2 separate regions of the Homo sapiens genome follow, and region 1 is linked to region 2. Evidence: promoter capture Hi-C in human tissues and cell types (Jung and others, 2019). All regions are on one chromosome and are shown on one strand. Each heading gives the region's core, a stretch centred on a gene start or on the middle of the fragment in contact. The rest is flanking DNA. Distances are from core to core; before and after follow the strand shown. Region 1 has its middle 4.0 kb from the start of LINC02896. Region 2 holds the start of LARP6 (La ribonucleoprotein 6, translational regulator).

Region 1 (4,773 bases), core at 1,859-4,358, 1.4 Mb after region 2:
CCAGGGCTGGAGAGACTCAAGGAGGCTTCTGGGCAGGCTGAGCAGAGAGAACACTGCAGAGGGGAGAGATGCCACGGGTCAGCTGGGTGAAGGCATTTGCTGGAACTGAGGGAGCGCTCAAGGGAAGTGAGGAGAGTCCTCTCCCCAAGAGCCTCCCCCACAGCCACTTATCCTGTCCCTCTGCTCTGGGCCCCACCCCCACCTCTAAGTCAAGCAAACCCAACTTGTTGAAAGCAAGCAAACAGCCACGGAGCAAGACGCACACACTTCTCACCCATTCCCAGCCAAGGGGAACGGGCTATAGTTTGTTGACAGAGAGAAAAGTAATCAATTTTTCATTACCCAGTGAAGGCAACAGAATGTCTCAGGATGTCAACAGTTTCCAGGCAACAAAGACAAACCAAATACACAGGCCCCTCACCTGAAAGCTGTTTCCTTTACAAGCATCAGCTTGAATGAGAGGAGGTAATGAGAGAGGCAGAGGCAGGTGAAACCACTTGGCAGCCGCAGCGTATGAGTCAGACGCTGGGGCTCTGTGGTTGTCTGCAGTGACCCCATTAGCAGATCTCATCAGACTACGTACGACTCAAAGCAGAGCCTGCACTGGGGGAGGATTCAGGCACAAGATGTCGGAGCAAGACCGGAGAGAGTGGCTAATGTGGCTTATTCATTCATTTATTCAGCAAACATTTTTTAGGGCTCTTAGGCCCTGGGCTCAGGCCTGAGGCCCCAGTCTAGCTGAGGAGATGAGCGTGGAGACAGCGTCCCCTTACCTTAGGGATGAGAAGACTGACAACCACAGAGAGGAAGTGACTGTCCCAAGATCACAGAACCACACGGGGCACTTGGCAGCTGTGCCGCAGGTCTCCAGCATGCAGCAGGCCTATGCACATGGAAGGAGGCTCAGGAAGCGGCCGGCACAGACGTAGTCTCATCGAGAATTAACACAGGGAGCTTTCCAGAGACCTTTAGCAAAAGTGTTCAGATACTGAACCTAAAAAGTAAAAGGAGATCATTAGAATCTCTTATGGTGCCTATATTATTGTTATTTTTAACTCTCAAGGTGATTCTAACCAAAACAGAAAGGATGGCCCTTTCTGGAGCTCCTTCCCCAGCACAATGTCGGGCCTCAGAGCTCCCAGGATGTCTCCTTGTGTTTGCGTTAACGTTTCTCAGTGAGTGTCAATGGAGACTCGAGAATAAGTCAACACAGGTCCTCACAATAAATGCCAAGGCTTGTTAGCAGAGTAAACCGTGTGCTTAGCCCGTCTTAAAAGAATCTTTGCTGAGTAAACACAAGAAAGGTTTTACCTGAGAGTCAACAGAGCAAGGAGCTAATGGGCCCCGCCGGGCTGGAAGGTGACTCCACTGGCACCTGCCGCAGGGCCCAACAGGGGCCCTGGGAGGGGAGTCGGGATTGGCCATGTGGGAGCTGGAGCATCCTCAAAAGCCCTTCATGGCAACGTGAGGACACCAGGGGCCAGAGAGGTCAGGGGGCTTGTCGAAGGCCCCACAGCTTGTTGAAACAGAACTAAATCTCTCTTACCCAGCAGCCTCTGCTCGCCCAGGGAGCCCAGTCTCTTGGTGAGGAGGCAAAAACCCAGTCCACAGAAAGGAGGTCCTGGGAATCAATCCCATTTGCTCTGAAGTATGAAGAAACTGATGTCTTATCCTTCCCAGGGCAGTTTTGGTATTTAAAGAAGACTGCAGGGAAATGAAGCCCTAATGGTGGCATGTCTGAAATGACAGCAGAGGGAAAATATTTTGGGTCCGAATAGGGCTTCTAGCTTTTTCGGTCTCTGAATGTTCACACTGATTCAATATTATCCTTGGTGACAGTGGATAAAAAACAAGCCTCGTGGTGAAACCCCGTCTCTACTAAAACTACAAAAATCAGCCGGGTGTGGTGGTGCGCGCCTATAGTCCCAGCTACTCGGGAGGCTGAGGCAGGAGAATCGCTGGAACTCAGGAGGCGGAGGTTGTAGTGAGACGAGATCATGCCACTGCACTCCAGCCTGGGTGACAGAGAGACTCCATCTCCAAACAAACAAACAAACAAAAAACAAGCCTGAACTGCTTTCTGTCTTTTCACCACACCTCACAACTTCTTTGATGGCCTGATATGCATGAGGTTCTCATTTTCCCAAGTAAAGAAAAATTATGACCTGAAATCTTGGACCTATAAGCTTGTTAGTCTCAAAACCCAAGTACAACCACTAACTTAATATCTCATTTAACGTGCCACCAGAAAAAAACCTTCCAATATTCAATTTTTCATTTAATTTGTGAATTCCTTTCCTCTTTCTCAAAAGAATTTGAGTATAGATCAAAGTACAACGATGCAGTAAAGTCAATAAAAAAGCTGCCAAAATTTTTATTTTAAAAATCAGTACCAAGAAAAGGAGGAGGAGGTAAACACCTTATCCATTTGGGTTAATTTAATTACTGAGATTGGGCACCTGGTCTGGTACTGAATTTCTCAGCAGCTGAAGCAGAGAAGAGAGAGTGTGAAGTCACAGAGCTCTCGTTATCATACAGGAGGATGCAGACTAATGCCCCAGAGGACACAAACTTTCTCCTGCCCCTAAATTTTACAAGAATTTTTCACATGAGACCTTATTTAGGAGACCATAACAATATAAGAGCCTGCTCAAGTTTTCTGGCAAAAGCAGAAATGGTTTTCATGTGGCCTTTTCTTCCAACAACCTTTGAGGAAAACCAAGGGTGCACCAGATTGCACAGTGATTCAGTGACATCTTTCTTTGTTTTTAAACAAGAAATGAACTTGAGCATTTGCAGAGGCAAAGTGAAGCGTGCTAAGTAAATTACAAGGGAGGGAAGACCATATTAAAGTGCTCTTGGTTTCCTCTTGGCTGGGTCATGGGAGGGCACACAAACATGCTTTCCTTACTAAGGTGTGGACTGACTCACTCATCCTTCGGCCAAGCAGCCAGGCAGCTCTGACTGTGGAACTCACACCCTAGCCTAGAAGCACTCTAGCGTGAAGGGGTCAACCCCAGTAGCCCTTCCCAGGATTGGCCACTATGGGGCAACACTGAGCCAGCATCTGGAAAACAAAAATTCCTTTTGTCAGCAAAGCCATCCAGCATGTATGAAATTCTACCAACCCAATAATTCCATTAATTCTGAAAATCCAATATTTGACCTTCTCCATAAAGGGTGTAAAAATAAAACAGCCTTTCTAATTGTAGAAACTGTTTCTTTGATTTCCTTTTTATTTTATTTATTTTATTTTTTGAGACAGTCTCTCTCTGTCATCCAGGATAGAGTGCAATGGCGCAATCTTGGTTCATTCCAACCTCCAGCTCCAGGGTTCAAACAATTCTCATGCCTCAGCCTCCTGAGTAGCTGGGACTACAGGCACACGCCACCACACCCGGCTCATTTTTGTATTTTTAGTAGAGGTGGGTTTTTGCCATGTTGGCCAGGCTGGTCTCCAACTGCTGGCCTCAAGTGATCCACCTTCCTCGGCCTCCCAAAGGAGTGAGTCACCGTGCCCTGCCACTTTTTAACTTTTTAGCCACCAATTCATATGAGATAGCAAAGAAAAGCTCAACAGTTTTTGAACAGTAACTATGCTGTTTTATATGTGCCATCTCACTTAATTCTAAAAGAACTCTATGAGGTAGGTGTCAACATGATCCCCACTATGCATATGATGGAACTGAGGCACAGAGAGGTTAAATAACTCACTCAAAGTCACACAGCCCTATTTAGCGGCAATGGGATTTGAGCCAGCCCAGGTAGTCTGATATCAGAGCATTTAACCCTGTGTCCCAGAAGACTTACATGATCTCATAGCTAGAGGAAGCATCTAGTTCACTTCCTCCTGGAGCAACACTGTCTTCCATATCCCAGCCTCAGCCTAACACCTAGCAAAGCTTTTCCTTATTTTTCTTATTTTGACCTAAAACTGTCTCAAAACTGGTCAGAGTTCTTCCTTCTAGAACTACTTGGAAGTTGAGTCTCTCTTCCACATGAAACCCTCTCCAATTTTTAAAAAATCAAAACCAGTGTTTTTAATTTAGAAAAGTAATGTATGTTCATGGTCTTTAAAAATTCAAGCAATATAAAAAGGATAAACTGGAAAGTAAAAATATTTCTTCCACCCCATCCAATCCCTGTCCTCAGAAGTAACCACTATAATTACTCTTGAATCCTCCCAGAAGTTTTTTAATACTATAAAACATATGCACATTTTTTTTATTTTTTTACTCAAATAGGGTCATGTTATGCATACTGGTGGCAACTTACCTTTTTTCACTTAACAAGGTGTCCTGGATGTCTTTCCATAGCGGCATTCCTATACATAGCTACATGAAAACATTAACATTTATTCAACCTGCCTATCATCCATACTTTTTTTCTAATACAAGCAATACTTCAGTGAAATTGTACATAGCATAGGTTCCTACAAATGAAATTCCTGGATAGAGGGTAAGCGCACTTTTGAGAGAGAGGACCAAATGACCCTAAAAAAATTGTAGTAGTTCTGGCCGGGCTCGGTGGCTCACGCCTATAATCCCAGCACTTTGAGAAGCCGAGGCGGGCAGATCACGAGGTCAGGAGATCAAGACCATCCTGGCTAACATGGTGAAACCCTGTTTCTCCTAAAAATACAAAAAATTAGCAGGGCGTGGTGGCGGGCGCCTGTAGTCCCAGCTACTCGGGAGGCTGAGGCAGGAGAATGGCGTGAACCCGGGAGGCGGAGCTTGCAGTGAGTTGAGATCGCACCGCTCCACTCCAGCCTAG
Region 2 (4,659 bases), core at 365-2,864:
CAGCAATAGCACCAAAGGTCTCTCTCTCTTCCTTTACTTACTTATTTTAGGACCTCTTCTATCAAAACAGAGGTCCGACAAAGAAAGGGACACAGATTCTAGTGTCCTTAAGAAGAGGGGCTGTCCTCGCTGGGCCCCTGGGTCTCTCCCCAGCCCTGCCCAGACACCCAGGACCCTATACATGGTGTTCTTTTACAAGGACACTGCCCTCCAGGAGACCTCATTTCCTAAGCCTATCCTAACTTGTCTTTCTATATCAAAACAAATGTATTGGTCCAGGGTTCTGTTGTTTTGGGGTCCCAGTGTGGCAAATTAATATGATAAATTATGTTTAAGGCTCTAAATAAAGTGCTACATGAAAGCAGATTCAGGTCTTATTCATTTCTTTTTCTTCTTTCCTTCTTTCTTTTTTTTTCTTTTTCTTTTTTTTTTTTTTGAGACGGAGTCTCGCTCTGTTGCCCAGGCTGGAGTGCAGTGGCACAATCTCGGCTCACCACAACCTCTGCTTCCCAGGTTCAAGTGATTCTCCTGCCTCAGCCTCCCGAGTAGCTGGGATTACAGGCACGTGCCACCACGTCCAGCTAATTTTTGTATTTTTTTTAGTAAAGACAGGGTTTCACCATGTTGGCCAGGATGGTCTCGATCTCTTGACCTCGTGATCCGCCCGCCTGGGCCTCCCAAAGTGCTGAGATTACAGGCTTGAGCCACTGCGCCCGGCCGGTCTTATTCATTTCTATGCTCCTGTCCCTAGTTTCTGGGTCACATTTGGAGAGGTGAGATGGAACTCAATTTGAAGTTACACGTGAAAAGGTGGCAGTGTTTTAGAACATCCTGACATTTCAATAGCTCCCTTTATTCATTCAACAAACATCTGAGTGCATACTATGTGCAGGGCATACTCTATAGGCCATCGGCTTTCGAACTTTTGTGAACTTCAGCATCACCTAGAGGCCTTGTTAAAACACAAAGTTCTGAATCATAGATTCTGATTCAGGAGGTCTGGATGAGCCCTGAGAATTCAATTTCTAACAAGTTCCCCGGTGCAGCTGATGCTCCTGGTCTGGGAACCACACTTGGAGAAAAACTGATACAGGGCAAGGCAGGAGCCAAGCCCCTGACCTCCTAAGACGCGGTCTAGGGTGGTTATTATGTCAAGGAGACTAACGATGGAAATTTTCTGATCTTGGCAGGCCAGTGGGGGAGACACGCAGGAGGCCTGGAAGCCCCTGGAGCTGTGGTCTCTGGCTGCCACCCCCGGAGTCAAGCACAAACAGAAGTCAGCTGTGCTGCGCCCATCCCTGCGGCGCCGTGAAAGAAGGCGCAGGAGGAGGGAGCCCTGACACCTCCTCTCGGGCTGGGGCCCCACAGCGGCGAAAAGACGGAGGGAGTGATCGGGGGTCGCGGGGATCCTTCCGGGACGGGCCTCCGTCGGAGGAGCTCCGGAAAGCCGCCCTCCACCTCCGAGGCCCCGCCTGCGCGGGCGCTCCACTAGCGGTCGGGGTGGTGGCGGCGGCGGCGGCGGCGGCGGCGGCGCGGGGCGGGGCGCCGCGACCCCTGTCCCTCCCCTGGGCCGAGCGGCAGGCGCGCTCGCACCGCCCCCGCCCCCTCGTCGCAGTCGCTGCCGACCGGCTGGCTGGGCCTTGCGGCGTGAGGACCCCGGCGGCGCCGCAGTCCCGCGAGCCATGGCCCAGTCCGGCGGGGAGGCTCGGCCCGGGCCCAAGACGGCGGTGCAGATCCGCGTCGCCATCCAGGAGGCCGAGGACGTGGACGAGTTGGAGGACGAGGAGGAGGGGGCGGAGACTCGGGGCGCCGGGGACCCGGCCCGGTACCTCAGCCCCGGCTGGGGCAGCGCGAGCGAGGAGGAGCCGAGCCGCGGGCACAGGTAGGCGCGGCGGCTGGCCCGGGAGGTGGGCCCCGAGGGGGCGCCGGGCCGCGCGCGAGTTCGGGGCGCTGACTGCGCGCGACAACTCCTCGGGCAGAGGGGGTTGAGTCAGCCCCGCCGCCGGGGAAGCAGCTCCGGGCCGAGCCCCTGAGTCAGAACCGGCCCGTGGAGGCAGCCGGTGCCCCAGCCCGCAGCTTCGTCGCCCAACCGAGGCTCCCAGGGCTGGCGGCCGGGATCTGAGGGGCCTGGACGTGGGGATGTTCAGGGATCCAGGAGGAGGACTTTCACGGGCCATCCAAGCCACCCCCTCCTCTGGAGGAGGCCTCTTCTCTGTGGGCTCCCTCAAGACACCACCTCCCCATCGCCGCAAAGTCCATCCCTACCCGCCTTCCCCTCCCCTTGCGAGTGGTCCCGCTTACCCTTCACTGCCATCATCGCCCTGCCTTTCCCAGTCCTGCTGGCTGCGCTCAGTCTTTAGGTGGTAGCAGGCCAGGTACAGCGGACACTTGCTGATGGGGGATTCCAGGAGGTGGGATTTCAAGGTAATTTGAGACGGATAGAGGACTTGCTGCTTTACTTCCTCCGCCCTGGGGGATTCCCATTTTCACACAGCCTTTCCCACCAGACCTTTATGTTTGCATCATCTTGCTGCCTTGCGGGGGGCGGGGGGGGGGTGTTCCTGGGTTTTGGGTAGTTTGGAGCTGCTATGGCACTTGTTTAACCTTGTCCCGGGTCCCGAGCTTTGTCCTCAGGCACCTTGGCTCCTGTCCACTAATGCCCAGGCCCTTAAGGACTGGTGTTTTGTTCCTGCTGTTGAAAGGAGATAAAACATAGACATAGACATGAGAGTGGGGAAATGACAGAACTTGCACATTCTGGTGGATGCCAACAGGCACTTATTAGGAGCTCTCTTTCTTCTAGGACCCTGTCCCAGGCGTTTAGCTGTTAAGGTTCTGCAGGATTGTCCTGGCAAGCGTATATCTACTTCACTGGGAGAATACTCAACTCAAGGGTGGAAGAATACTGGGCCCAGAGCCATTCTCTATTACTGGCTCACCCTTCCCCAGGTTAAAGGGTCAGACTTCTGGACCCAGAGATTCGGGGCAGACCAGTAGAGACAGTTGTTAGGGGAGAAAAGTCAGCCCACCAGGGTAGGGCAGGAAAGCTGGACCATAGTGTATGACAAAGTAGATAGATCAGTGCTTTATAATGCAAGGCCTGATTCGTTTAGCTCTGTGCCAAGTACCGAGAGCATAAAAATGATGAACCCTTAGTCACTGACAGCTCACAGTCTCGAGAAGGCAGTCCCCTAGTCAGACAATATCAGAGTATGTAAAATAGCCCCAAGTGGTTTATCCTTATAACTTTATTTTCCTGTGGCAGTGGCAAATAGCCATCCCTATCCTGAGGGCTAAATTTGTGAGATTGTATCATTAGCCAGGATTAAAGCTCTACTTATGTTTAAGGCCTGGAAAGATCCCCTATGGAGGTCTAGGAGAAACCAAGCCTCAGTATGGGTAGGCCTCTTGCCTGAACCCCTCTTGCTCTTCCTCCAGAACTGCCCAGCTCCCGTGGCTTGAGTCTCAGCAAGTGTTCAGTCTGAAGCCCTTCCTGCTGCCCACTGGCATAGAGTTGACCCCAGAAAATCCCTGGGGTTCTTCGGTGAGCTGACAGAGCCCAGTGGGCAGGCACCCAGAGCAGGAGGAGATGTAGCCAAGAACAGGATCCACACTATCCCCTGTTTGGACCCAGGCTCGCATGGCAGCAGCCATCACCCGATGTGAATGTTCTCAGCTCCTGGAGCCTACAGGAGAAAACCCAGATTCCTCAATCTGCTCATTAAGATGTGACACCCACTCACATCATCTCCTCAGCCCATTGCCTCAACAGTTCACGCTGTCAACAGTTCACGCTCCCGTGATTCCAGCTAGTTCCCTGAGCATAGGGGGCTATTTTGTGTCTACATGCCTCTGCACCCCCACCTCTAGGTCCTCTGATTGACTGATTTCTAGTCAGCCTTTAAAACTTCGCTGCCTCTTCTCCACCACCCCCAATCCCCACCCCAGAGCTGGCTGTGTTTCCTTTCTTCTCTGTTGCTGTAGTACTCTGTACATTTTATGCCTAGCACCTTCCACAATTGTGATTCTATCATTGTGTCTCCCTCACAGGAATAGGAGCTCGGTGAATTCAAGGACCATGCTTGCTTCGTTCATTGTATCTTCAGCACCTAGCACAGCACCCAGCACATAGGACATGTTTGTTGACTGAATGCGTATCTCTATCATCACACTCACTCAATGGTGTTGAGATATTTGTGTTTCCCCTTCCCTAGACAGTGAGATCCTTGAAGGCAGCTGCCTTATCTTATTCCTTTTTGTATTTCCATACCTAGCCTAATACCTAGCTTATATAAGGGAACAGAATAAATGAACAATAAAGAAAAGTCTTTACAGCCTCTAAAATGTTATTGATCATCTCCCCACATCTCCTTCATTAAAAAGATGCCTTTCCTTTTATTCTCACCTTTTTAACATAAAAATTTTCAAACATAAAGAAAATATGAAAAAATAGTACTATGAGCATTCATATACCCATCATCTAGATTTAACACAACATTTTGCCATATTTGGTGAATGGATATACAATGTATGTGTTTTCCCCGAACCATTTGAGGTATGTTTTACACAAGATTATACCTTAAATACTTCATTTTGTAACTCCTAATGACATTCCCTATAAAGCCCTAACACTATTATTGCAACTGAGAAAATTAACTA

The links. Contacts are between HindIII fragments. The study calls those that stand out against the background at their distance.
Region 1: a fragment that was not itself captured here is called in contact with the fragment with the promoter of LARP6 in region 2 in 1 of the 25 tissues and cell types used here (spleen).

Annotation. Positions count from the first base shown.
Region 1 is chr15:69,464,394-69,469,166 of GRCh38, reverse strand. No RefSeq gene overlaps it. Among named protein-coding and RNA genes, the nearest start is that of LINC02896, 4.0 kb to the right of the region's middle. RefSeq lists an enhancer at 625-824. The HindIII fragment of the contact is 4,515 bases long and covers 851-4,773 here.
Region 2 is chr15:70,851,112-70,855,770 of GRCh38, reverse strand. LARP6 (La ribonucleoprotein 6, translational regulator) reads left to right here and starts at 1,614. Exons shown (of 3, transcript NM_018357.4): 1 at 1,614-1,882. The coding sequence starts at 1,683. It also overlaps a transcript of LRRC49 not described here. RefSeq lists an enhancer at 1,724-2,225. The HindIII fragment of the contact is 12,354 bases long and covers 1-4,659 here.